Regions from separate parts of the Homo sapiens genome. Here all the other regions are linked to region 2. The links are contacts of gene promoters, found by promoter capture Hi-C in blood cells and fetal thymus (Javierre and others, 2016). All regions are on one chromosome and are shown on one strand. Each heading gives the region's core, a stretch centred on a gene start or on the middle of the fragment in contact. The rest is flanking DNA. Distances are from core to core; before and after follow the strand shown.

Evidence for each region. Contacts are between HindIII fragments. The CHiCAGO score rates a contact against its expected background, and 5 or more counts as called.
Region 1: a contact is called between a fragment that was not itself captured here and the fragment with the promoter of GSX1 in region 2, in 1 of 17 cell types (erythroblasts). The highest score is 5.9, in erythroblasts.
Region 3: a fragment that was not itself captured here is called in contact with the fragment with the promoter of GSX1 in region 2 in 2 of 17 cell types (fetal thymus and naive B cells); the score reaches 5.3 in fetal thymus.

What each region holds. Positions count from the first base shown.
Region 1 is chr13:26,935,318-26,939,580 of GRCh38, reverse strand. No RefSeq gene overlaps it. Among named protein-coding and RNA genes, the nearest start is that of GPR12, 180 kb to the right of the region's middle. The HindIII fragment of the contact is 847 bases long and covers 2,237-3,083 here.
Region 2 is chr13:27,789,676-27,794,070 of GRCh38, reverse strand. GSX1 (GS homeobox 1) reads right to left here and starts at 1,588. Exons shown (of 2, transcript NM_145657.3): 1 at 969-1,588; 2 at 1-505. The coding sequence starts at 1,380. The coding sequence ends at 123. RefSeq lists an enhancer at 858-1,661. The HindIII fragment of the contact is 6,142 bases long and covers 1-2,930 here.
Region 3 is chr13:26,995,358-26,999,620 of GRCh38, reverse strand. No RefSeq gene overlaps it. Among named protein-coding and RNA genes, the nearest start is that of USP12-AS1, 130 kb to the left of the region's middle. RefSeq lists an enhancer at 2,016-2,285. The HindIII fragment of the contact is 1,292 bases long and covers 1,151-2,442 here.

The DNA.
Region 1 (4,263 bases), core at 1,411-3,910, 860 kb after region 2:
TGGCTGGAAGTTTGGAAGTTTATTTCTGACTTTTGAGGTCCAAAATTGGTGCAGGATATTTCTGTGGGTGGCCTCAGACTGACCCAGTTCTTCCCCCTTTCATACTTGCAGTTCTTAAGAATAACTGTAGAATATGCCTAGAATACAACATCCTGAGATGGGCTGCCCAAAACAGCCTGATCCTTGTTCCTGTTCCTCCTAGAAAATGTAACATCTTGAGTTAGAGAGGAAATGCCTGGGGCAGCCAAGGCTTTGATTCTCTCTTCCCTGGAAGTAGAATGCCCCTCAAGGTTTTAGCCCAGTGGGTCATGTGCCCCTGAGCTCTATAACCCAGGGCAGGCTGCCTTTTGGGGGTCCCTCAGCTGTGATGCAAGTGAGACATGCACAGTTGAGAATCCATCCACCCTGGACAGCTTTCTTGAGCCTTGGAGGCCTGATATGGTTTGGCTCTGTGTCCCCACCCGTATCTCATGTTGAATTGTAATTCTCAATCCTGGGGGAGGGTCCTGGTGGGAGGTGATTGGTTCATGGGGATGGATTTCCCCCTTGCTGTTCTTGTGATAGTGAGTGAGGTCTCATGACTTCTGATGGTTTAAAAGTGTGTGGCTATATACCCAGTAATGGGATTGTTGGGTCAAATGGTACCCAAAGGACTATGAATCATTCTACTATAAAGACACATGCACGCATATGCTTACTGTAGCACTATTTACAATAGCAAAGACATGGAATCAACCCAAATGCCCATCAATGATAGACTGGATAAAGAAAATGTGGTACATATACACCATGGAATACTATGCAGCAGTAAAAAGGAATTAGTTCATTTCCTTTGCAGGGACATAGACGAAGCTGGAAACCATCATTCTCAGCAAACTATTGCAGGAACAGAAAACCAAACACCACATGTTCCCACTCATAAGTGGGAGTTGAACAGTGAGAACACAAGGACACAGGGAGAGGAATAACACACACCAGGGCCAGTTGGGGGGTTGGGGGCAAGGGGAGGGATAGCATTAGGACAAATAGCTAATGCATGCGGGGCTTAAAACCTAGACAATGGGTTGATAGATGCAACAAACCACCATGACACATGTATACCTGTGCAACAAACCTACACATTCTGCACTTGTATCCTGGAACTTAAAGTTAAAAAAAAGTGTGTGGCACTTGCCTCTTCACTGTCTCTCTCTCTCCTGAGGCCTCCCAGGTTGTGCCTCCTCTACAGCCTGCAGAAATTTGAGTCAATTAAACCTCTTTTCTTTATATATTACCCAGTCTCAGGTAGTTCTTCATAGCAGTGTGAGGATGGACTAATATAAGGTCTGGCTCACAGTGAATCTTATGCTCTTTTGTCCCTTGCTGCCTTCTGCACGTCATAAATCTGCTTTATGTAACTTGTTGCACATGTGTGTGTTCTGTCTCGCTGGACTCAGACAAGTTGGTTGGTAACCAGTACATGATGAACCTACTTTATAACTGGTTTCCAGATCAGAGAAGGGTTCTCCTTCAGGTAGTGATTCAGCATCCCAGGATCATTAATCTAGTGGCTTCCCCATCTTCTGCAAATCATTTTCATGCTCTTTTTTATGATCTGGCAGAAGGGGAAAGAGCACAGAGACCCATACACAGGAAGGTTTCATGGGCCAGGCTGGAGCCCAGTTACATGACCACCCTAACCACGGGAGGCTGGGAAACATAATCCAGTTGTGTGCCCAAGGAGAGAGATGGGTTTCATGAACAACATTTCCTGCCATGGAACAATAGGGAACAACGGAATGAACAGAAGCCCAGCACTGACTGTTACTGTTCACAGAGCAAGTTAGTTTAGTTACCTAAAGTGACTATATGTCAGCTTAGAATATGAAGCTATTTTCACATGAACTCCTATGAAAAAACAATGGCGCTTGTCAGAGGCCTGTCAGCTCTCAACAGTGTCCCATTATTGGCAGAGGCTGCCGCAGTGGAATAAAGCAGAAACTGCCTTCTAAATCATAAGACTCCATACTCAAACAGCTCAGAGTCTAATCAGCATCCTCCTCAGAAAGAGCAGGAAGTTTGCAGAGTGGGAAGGCTTGGCCCCTGTGGTGGTGGTGGGGGAGCTGGTTGTGTTGGGGCCTATTCAGATGAGAGATCATTGAGTGGCCTTGTGTATGATACTGCAGGACCTGAGTCCACTGAAAGCTTTGGCCATTTTTTTGGACTCCTAGTGGGATGGGAGCTGCTGGGAGAAGCTTCTCCTAAAGGAGACCCAGTGGGACCTGGTGAAGCAGGAGTAGAACCCTGAAAGAGCCCCAGTGAGGAGTAGTCTTGGTTGCTAAGTGTTTTAGTCCATTTGTGTTGCTATAAAGGAATACCTGAGGCTGGGTAATTTATAAAGAAAAGGGGTTTACTTGTCTCACAGTTTTGCAGGCTGTACAAGAAGTGTGGCCCCAGTATCTGCTTCTGGTGAGGAACTCAGGATGCTTCCACTCATGGTGGAAAGGGAAGAAGAATTGAGGTGTGCAGAGATCACATGGTGAGAGAGGAAGCAAGAGAGAGAAAAAGAGAGAGAGAGCAGGGAGATGTCAGGCTCTGTTAACAACCAGCTCTCATGGGAGTTAATAGAGCAAGAACTCACTCAGCACTGTGAGGACAGCACCAAGACATTCATGAGGGATCTGCCTCTGTGACCCAACTACCTCCCACTAGGCCTCACCTCCAACATTGGAGAACAAATTTCAACATGAGATTTGGAGAGATAAGCATCCAAACTATAGCATTCTGCCCTTGGCACCCCAAATCTCATGTCCTTCTCACATGCAAAATACCATCATTTCTTGCCAATATTCCCAAAAGTCTTAATTCATTTCAGCATTAACTCAAAAATCAAAGTTCAAAGCCTCCTCTGAGACTCAAGGCAAGTCCCTTACAACTGTGAGCCTATTAAATCAAAATCAAGTTATTTACTTCCAAGATACAATGGTGGTGCAGGCATTGGATAGACACTCCGATTCCAAAATGGAGAAATCAGCCAAAAGAAAAGGGTAATAGGCCCTATGCGAGTCTGAAACCCAGCAGGGCAGACATTAAACCTTAAAGCTTAAAAATAATCTCCTTTGATGCCATGCCCCTGGGCACACTGGTGTGAGGAGTAGGCTCCCAAGGCCTTGGGCAGCCTAGTCCCATTGCTTTTCTAGGCACATCCCCTGTGGCTGCTTTCATGGGTTGTAGTTGAGTGCCTGCAGGATTTCCAGGTACGGTCTCAAGTTACTTCTGACAATGATAGGTCGGCAGCCCCCTTCCCACAGTCCCAGTAGGCAGTGTCCCAGTGGGGACTCTGTGTGGGGGCTCCAACTCCCCCACATTTCCCCTCAGCACTGCGCTAGTAGAGTCTCTCTGTGAGGGCCCCATCCCTATGATAGGCTTCTGCTTGGGTACCCAGGCTCTCAGATATATCCTCTGAAATCTAGGTAGAAGCCACCAAGCCCCCACCATTCTTGCATCCTGTGTGTTTGCAGACTAACATCAGGTGGAAGCTTCCAAGGCTTACAGCTTGTGCCCTTCAGAGTGTTGGCCAGAACATAACCTGAAGTTGTTTGAGCCACAGCTGGAACCAGAGTGGCCTGGATATGAAGAGCAGTATCAGTATCTCAAGGCAGCACAGTACAGCAGCACCCTGGGCCTGTCCCCAAAAATAATTCTGTCTTCTGAGACCTCTGAGCCTGTGATGGGAAAAGTATCCTTGAAGATTTCTGAAATGCCTCTGGGGCCTTTTCCTCATTGTCTTGACTATTAGTACCTGGCTCCCTTTTATCTGTGCTAATCTCTCTAGCAAGTGATTGCTCTATAGCACCCTTGGATTCCTCTTCTGAAAATGCTCTTTCCTTCTCTCTGACACAGCCAGGCTGCAAATTTTCCAAATTTTTATGCCCTGTTTCCTTCTTCTCTACCAATTTACCGTAAGAAGTTAGAAGTAAACACACAGTAGTCTGAGCACTTTACTGCTTAGAAATTTCTTCCTCCAGATATCCTAGGTCATCACTCTTAAGTTCAGCCTTCCACAAAGCTCTACAGCAAGGACACAAAGCAGTCAAATTTTTTGCTAGGGTGTAACATGGGGGACCTTTGCTCCAGTTCCCAATAAGTTCCCTATTTCCATCTTGAGAACATGGCAGTGTGGGCTTCTTATTTAAAAAATTTATTTTTTACTTTTTTTGAGACAAGGTCTCACTCTGTCACCTAGGCTGGAGTCCAGCAGCATAATCTTGGCTCACTGCAACC
Region 2 (4,395 bases), core at 339-2,838:
AGTGCCAAATCCATGCCAGGCAGTGGTTTGGCTGCGGGTGCCTGGGAATCAGCGCTGAGTCCCAGGACTAGTCTCCGAGGCGCAGGGAGGTCTTGGGGTGGGCGACCTAGGGAGACACGCGCCTAGGGAGTGACCGTAAGATCCCGGTCGTCCTTCCCTGAGGAGGACGGAGACATGGGCAATTCGTCGTCATCCTCGGAGCACTTGGCTGAGGAGAGCGATGCGCACTTGCAGCCTTGCGGTGCGCTCCCGCCACCACCGGCACCCCCGCCGCCGCCGCCACGATGGTTGCTGCCCTTGCCCTCCTTCTTGTGCTTCACTCGGCGGTTCTGAAACCAGATCTTCACCTGCTTCTCGGACAGATTCAGGTAGGTCGCGATCTCGATGCGACGTAGGCGGGACAGGTACATATTAGAAGCGAACTCGCGCTCCAGCTCTAGCAGCTGCGTGCTGGTGAAAGCCGTGCGCATCCTCTTGCTGCTGGGCAGCTGGTTAGAGCTGCTGTCTGGAGGTGGCAGAGCAGAGAAGGAAGCGATCAGACCTCTGTGCTGTGGACCCAATCCCTTGGTAGGCGGTCGCCAGAATCCTACGACTTTGACCTCTTACCCATCTCTTCGCCCCAACACAATCCACAGCAGAGCTACAGTGAGCGCTCCTTGTCCAGCTCCGAGATCCTGATTCTCCCGGAGTCATGCAGCCCTGGAACCCCTTCCCCTTCATGGAGAGCCTTGGATCCCAGCCCTCACTTACCCCGGCCCACACTCCAGGACCTGGACGTCTGCCCTCATCCGCCTCCTGGCGTTGTGTCCCGGCCCTCTATCCTCACTCCACCCCAAGCGCCCCCCTTAGTCCCCGACATGACCCTCACCGCCCCCAGAAAGCCCAGGGTCCCTCTTCCTCCATCTCTGGCTCTCCATCCTGCTTCGGATCACCTCTGCCCGGTCCCTCTGCGCGGCGGCCCCGCTTACCCACAGAGATGCAGTGGAACTGCCTGGGGTCAGGCAGCGGGTAGGAGGTCTGGTAGAGCGCGGCGGCAGCAGCAGCGGCGGCCGGGCCGTGAGCGACCCCGGGCGACACAGCAGAGTGCTGGCGGCCCAGGGGCGCGTGGCAGTACTGCGAGCCGAAGGGTGGGAAGGAAGCCTTGAGTAGAGGCAGCGCGGGCGGCCCGGGGGGCCCATGCAGCTGCGAGGCGGTGACGCAGAGCGGGCACACGCACAGCAGCCCAGCCTTGCGCGCGTGGCAGGCGCCAGGCGAGAGACCGTGCAGCGCGTGCGGCGGGGGCACAGCGTAGGGGAAGAGCGGCGGCGGGCTGCCCTCGGGCGCCTTCTTCTCGCCCGCCTCGCGCAGCACTAGCGAGTCCACCAGGAAGGAGCGCGGCATGGCCCCGGCGCGCGGTCGCCCCGCAGCCAGCCCGCCCTCTGCGCCCACCGCACCTTTCGGCTCTCCACGCGCTTTCCCTGGCCGCGGTATCCCGCAGCTGCCTCTGCCCAGGAGGCTGAACGCGCGGCTGAGACCTAGGCTGAAACAGTAGCCTCTGCTGCCGTGGGCACCGCCCAAAGAGCGCGGGGTGCTGGCCAGCGCTAGTGGTGCTGAAAGGCGCCGGCGGCGCGGCTTAAATAGGACTATTGCCATGTGATGGACTACGCCAGGAGCGGCCGGGGCCTCTCAATAGGGTTTTTGTGCCTTTTCTCTTGGCATTCACTCTGCACGCTTCCTCATTATTTCACTTGTTAACTAAATGAACTGCATAATGTACTCTATTCTTGTCAACCCCACCCACGCCGTAACAGGCGCCCTCGCCCCCTCCTCTCCCTTTTGCGGGTTTATTTTCTCATTCTCCCGCGATTTAATATTCTTTCCTTTCTCTTTATTTCTTACTCCCCTTTGGCTTTGCATTGGCCATCAGCCCGTTCACCTTACTGATTTTGCACCCCCGCGGCCTCTCTTCTACAGATCCCCATGGGCGCACACCCTCATATCCTCTGTCCACTTGGTCCTGGTCCCCTTCTTTCTATTATCGCCCTTACACCCCAAAAGTATGCTGTCTCCAGTCAGCCCTGTCAGCTCAGTGCCGTGCACCCCCGAACCTCCCTCCAGCCGGTCTCAGATTTTCCACCTGTGGAATCGCTTCTCTCTCTGCGTCGGAAGAAGGAGGACCGGGTTCCCGCGTGAAGGAGGCGTCTGTGGGGAGGGAGGAGAAGGGCTCATTATTCCTTATCCAGCCCTAGACCCATCGCTGTCCCTCGGTTTTCTCTAAGTTTCTCAAATAGTCTTAATTTTGGTGCTGCCTACGACGCCCAGTCTTTGTTCGGTAGATGCTGGCCAACCAGCCCTTTCCTTCAAATGACAGGGCCGTGGATGTAAAAGAGGAAAAACAGTCTCTGAGCGTTACGAACAGAGACAGGGAATGGGGAATGAAAGCCGAGATGGCGCAGATCTAGATCTCGCACCCCAGCACATGTGGCGAGTGCGGACTGTCTGCCCGCGCATCTTGCCCACACCCTGTCTACTGGAGCACACTTCCAGCAGTGCGCTGGGAAACCGCTGCCATCTCTTAGTTTGGAACGGCGCGAAGGGCGGTTGTATTCCTGGCATCGGCTGCCTTTGCCCACCCTGACCCGCCTCCGCTCTCCCCAAGACCCGGCTTCTTCTTCCTGCCGCGTCACTCTTCTTTCTGGTCACACAATGGTTAAACAACTTCAAACGCTCAGAGCTGTGTACACAGCTCCAGCTTTTTAAATCGTTCTCGGGCTCAAAGCTGTTTCGCCCAGGAGCTTTTTCCATACAATGGGAAATCAGCATAAACATTTCTAATTTACAGCCCGGGACTTTTCACAGGAGACGTTTACTTTCGATTTTATTGGAACCAAATCGCTGCAGTCACCTGCTCTGAGCCCTGAATGGAATTGTGAGAAATGGAGGGGGAAGCTTAGGGGTCTGGGGAAGCAGTGCGCAGGAATAAGATTGCCCAAACCCGAAGCATCTGCATGGGCTTTTATCCTTGGCAACATCTTTGCAATAACAACAGCAACAGATTATAACTGATTAAAAAGCAAAGATAATTTGTTTTGCGAGATAATAACTGCTTCTGTAAAAGGGAATAGGACAATGGGAGAAGTAACCTGCATGGAGGGCATGGCATCTAGCAGGAGTAAGGGTTCAATGTTTTCTTGGTTGCTTGGCATGGAGTGGGGGGCAAGGCTGCCCTCTGAGACAGAGTCTCAGCGCCAAGGCTCCCCCACTCTAGGGTGGTGCCTGCAAACCAGCCGGAACGCATCAATGCAGCCTAATTCCCGTTCTAATTGCTCTCTGGGAAATTTGAGCTGGGCTGGGTCGCTGAGAGGAAGCGAAGAGCGAGACCCGGGCGGGGAGAGGGGCTTTCCGCTGGGCAGAGGCAGGCTGGAGGGGCGCAAGGGCGGGCGGGGCCCAGGGGTGCAAGGGGCGGGCACTGCACCCGGAGCTGGGAGCCCGCGAGTGGCCAGCGTGGAGCTCCACTGGCAGCCGCCCCGCGTGCCCGGGGAGGAAGGGGTTAAGAGCCCCTGAATGCGAGCAAGGCCAAAGCTACTGGGAAAGAATATGGGGGTGGGGGTGGGGGTGGGGGGAATAACCAGGTTTTTTTTTTTTTCCTCTCTCCAGCCTCTGGACCTTATTGAATGTCATTGAAGAAAGTTTTGAATGCCAGATAAAGAGAGGCGAATTAAAGTGTGTGACAGCGAAGGATAAGCAAACACAAAGAGAACTCTGTCACACTTTGGGGCAAAATCCGTGGGCTTTTTACCAAGTCTCTTCGCTATGATTGAATTAAGTAATAGGAAAACATTTTCTTTCAGTTTAGAGCCATTAGACAAAAACTTCAAAGCGAATAACACTTTTTAATGTGCGGCCCCACAATGGATCGGGTTTTGTGCTGAAATGTTTAAATGGTTTGTTGTGCAACTCGGCGCGGGAGAGACCCGGGCCGGAGCAAAATAGCATCCCTGAGAGAACCAAGGCGCACTTAATCTGTGGTCTCTCAGCCCGGCGGGCCGCGGCCGGAGAGGGGGCTCCCTGCTTGGCGGTCCAGGGCCGCCAGCGCGCCCAGGAGCCTGGCCATTTCCGCAGAGAAAGCTCCGTGCCTCTGAGAGACCCGAGCCTTGGGCAGGTGCTAGCGCGGGCAGCCGGGAGGTCCGGGCCGCCCCGCCAACCCGGCCTCCCCACCCAGCCAACCCGGCCTCCCCACCCCGCGGCCTCTGCCCGCCGCCTGGTTTCCGGGGGCCGCTACCCGGGCTCTCTCGGGCGGCCGCGCCACTTTCCTGTTTAAAGCGCCTCCCAGGGCTTGCTTTAGCCGAGTTTGAACTTTAGTCACCCGAGCAAAAGTCCCCCAGAGCGGGGCGGGGTGGGAGGCGGCTGCCGGAT
Region 3 (4,263 bases), core at 547-3,046, 790 kb after region 2:
TCCTGGTTGGGTGGAAGCTGCCATGTAAGTAGTAAAAGAACAGAGCCAGAGCTGTCCTGCGCTTACTAGAGTTAAAGTCCCGCCATGTTTTGCAGAATTATCTAAAGCTTCCAAAGGTTATTGGAGTTATTTCCATTATTCAGAGCTGTGACCAAGTTTGTGAAACTGTATAACGTGGTTAAGAACATGGATTAAACATCTTTTAAGGGGCAGTGGTGTTGGCATGGGTTGTGGGTTCTGTGTGTTTGCGCATATGTGTGTGTGTGTGTGAGAGAGAGAGAGAGAGACTGTGTTTTACTAGCAATTTATAAGTTGTAGTCTCCATATTTTGTTGTAAACCCATAGTCCTTGTGTGTCCTCAAAATTTCTGAATGATCAATAGACATTGTTTCATGTTTGGTGAGTAAAAAAATTATATCTTTGAGAATTTTGATACCTCAGTACATCTGAAACATCTGAATAATACTTTGAGGTGTCTGATGAAAAATATAGTTGCTGCAGAGTCTGTAAATATCTTTTCTCCTCTCAAATTTTGAATAACATAAAGCCCAGGTTTTAATAAATGCTTCCAGGCTGTATTTTTTCCTCCCGAAATGAACTCTTCCCTGCTCTTTCTGTTTTCCTGGCTTCCTCTCTGGTACCAGCATGTCCTGGGAGGACCTTGTGTCACAGTCCCAGGGAATAATGAATCTCACCGCCGTGGAGGTGAACAAGGACGCCCGGTTCATGAACCTCCATGGTGAGGACATTTGCCGTTATTTTTTAAAATTTGAAGTTTTTTTTTTTAAATCATCTCATTGTCTTGTATTATAGAATATTATAGAAGATAAACTATTAATTATCTCATACTTTGGACAGTTTTCCCATTAATTTAACAGAGTAACTGTTCACATTCTTTCAAGGCGGAATACAAAATTTTACAGCCAATAATTAGAAGGGGCCCTGGGGGCATTATTCCTGTCCATGGTGCCAGCATCATCGATGTTTTATTGACTTCACCTTTGAAACTAAGCAAGGCACAAAACACGTCCTTTTATGTCAGAGTCAGGAGATTTGTTTCCCAGCACAGCAACTGCACATCACTTCACAGAGACGAAGACTTAGGTGGAGCAAGGGAAGAGGAAGTGCGAAGAACCTTGGGCTGGAAGCTTTGTTCTTGCACGACTGCTGGTGCCTTAGGATGTTGTTTTTCCTGTCGAACTTCTGGGCAGCAGAGAGGAGGGAACTGCTGACCCACCTCTCCGGTCCCTCCTCAGGTAGCCTCATGCTCGTGCCTGAGGGGAGAGGGTTCAGGGCTTTCCCAGACAATCTGCACCTCAAGCTGGGGGCATCCACACAATAACACGGTACCTGGAAAACTTGTGGGTTGCTCTGTCACTTGGACCTAACTCACTAGGAAAATTCTGTGTTTCAGCTGGGCGTGGTGGCTCATGCCTGTTATCCCAGCACTTTGAGAGGCCGAGATGAGTGGATCACTTGAGGTCAGGAGTTTGAGACCAGCCTCGCCAACATGGTGAAACCCTGTCTCTGCAAGAATACAAAAATTAGCTGGACATAGTGGCGCATGCCTGTAGTCTCTGCTACTAGGGAGGCTGAGGCAGGAGAATTGCTCGAACCCAGGAGATGGAGGTTGCAGCGAGCCAAGATCTTGCCACTGCACTCCAGCCAGGACCAGATGCCTAAAAAAAAAAAAAAAAAAAAAGGAGAGAGAGAGAAAATTCTGTGTTTCTAGCTTTTTTTTTTTTTTTTTTCCTTGAAGAAGCTCAGGAAACAGAAGCAGATGGAGGCTGGTGTTAGATCCAGCTCTAACCCCACTGCACTCATCATTCTGGATTGTATTTTTGTGCTGATCTGCCTTCGTATGAGACAGGGGGACAGGTGGGTCCAAATCTGGGTGGCAGACCCTCAATTGCTACTTCCTGATGAATATGTAAATGAGCCCTTGGGACGTGTTTTAGAACATAGAACACCATGGTCTTCAGATGCCTGGCTGAGCAGGGCCTGGTGACTGCTGAACCAGTGGTCAACTCCTCAAACCCTTAGGGACGTGGCGCTTCCTCAAGGGCAGGATGTGGGGTTGTTTTGCTTCTGTTTTAGGAGGTTATTCTTGTTTCCTTAAAGAGATAGTGAATTCTCTCATGTCAGAGACCGTGGCATGCGCCTCTTTCATGGGAGATGCAGAAAAGCTATGAAACAAGCTGTCTGAAGCAGAATTGAAAGGGGACAGGGAGAGATGGGCAGGCAGGAGGAATTTATTTTGTGCTGACTGTGCAAGGTGCAGAGCTAAGGCTTTCCATACACATTACATAAACTCACCCTCACCTGCCCCCACCCTAAAAGACTCTGAAGAAAGTATTATTATGCCCATTTAAAAAATATTAAAAAACCAAAAGCACAGAGAGACTGTCTCATCCTGGGGTTTGGTTATGATGTGGCAAAGCTTGGTTTGAACACTGGTGTGACTTCCCTAGTCTAGAGTTGTTCATGCTGAGATGGGACCAGTAAACACAGGGAAGCTGACATGTACCCTAGTATTTAGTAATAGATTCTAAATGAGTCTTCTCAGAGATGTACGTGTCACAAAAGATACATCACAGTTGTGGGAATTCCACAGTTTGGAAGAGGCAATAAATCCTTAAAGAATTTTTGTATCATTTTATGTTAATAGAAATTTTAAATATTTTAAATATATAACTTACTATATTCCAGGCAAAATGCTAAGTGCTTTGCGCATCTTACCTCATTTAATACACACACACACACACACACACACACGTGATCCAGTGAGGCAGGTGCAAATATCATCCCCATTTTGCAGATGGTGAAATTAAAGCTAAAAATACCACAGCCAAGAAAATCTTGAAAAAGAACAAAGTTGGAGGACACATGCTCCCTGATTTCAAAACTTATTACAGAGCTACACTAATCAAAACTGTGTGGCAGTGGCATAAAGAGAGACATATAGACAGATGGAATGAAATAGAGAGCCCAATAAACCATTTTTGGTTGATTTGTCATATATGGTTGAATGATTTCAACAAGGGTGTCAAGACCATTCAATGGGGAAAGGGCAGTCTTTTCAACAAACTGTGCTGGGGAAACTGGATATTCACATGCAAAAGAATAATGTTGCAGCCTTACTTAACATCATATACAAAAATTAACTCAAAATCAATCAAAGACCTAAACGTAAGAGCTATTACTATAAAACTCTTATAAGAAAACATAGGGAAAACTTCATGATATTGGATTTGCTAATGATTTCCTTTGTATAACACCAAAGGCACAGGTTAAAAAAATAAATAAACTGGACTTCATGACCATTAAATACTTTTGTGCATCAAAAGATACTATAAATACTGTAAAGTGACAACTTACAGAGTGGGAGAAAATATTTGCAAATTACATACCTGATAAGGGATTAATATCCAAAATATATAGAGAACTCCTAAAACTCAACAACAAAAAAGTCAACACTCAATGCAAAAACATCTAAAGGACTTGAATAGATATTTCACTAAAGAAGATATACAGATGGCCAATAAGCACATGAAAAGTGTTCAATACCTCTAATCATAAGAAGAATGCAAATAAAAATGATAATGAGATAAAACCACACACCTGTTGGGATGACTACTAACAAAACAAAACAAAACAACACAAAAAACAGAAAATAACAAGTGTTGGTGATCATTTGGAGAACTTGGAAACTTTGTACAGTGTTGGTGGGAATGGAAAATGGTGCAGCTGCTGTGGAAAACGGTATGGAGGTTTCTCAAACAATGAAAAATAGAACCACTATATGATTCAAAAATCCTACTTCTGGGTATATTCTCAAAGCAGGGTCTTAAAGAGATATTTGTACACCCATGTTCATAGTAGCATTATTCACAATACCTAAAACATGGAAGCAACCAATCCAAGTGCTCAACAATGAATGAATGGATAAAATTCATTCAAAATTCAAAATGTGGCATATGCACACAATGAAATATTACTCAGACTTAAAAAGGAAAGAAATTCTGGCATGGGTTACAACATCATGAACCCTGAGGACATTATGGTAAGTGAAATAAGCCAGTCAAGAAAGGACAAAGACTAAATTACTCCACTTGTATGAAGAACCTAGAGTAGTCAGATTCATAGAAGAGAGAATAGAATGGAGGCTGCCAGGAACTGGAGGGAGGAGAGGCTGAGGAGTGGTTTAATGGCTGTAGAGTTTTAGTTTTGCAAGGTGGAGAGAGTTCTGGAGATGGGTGGTAG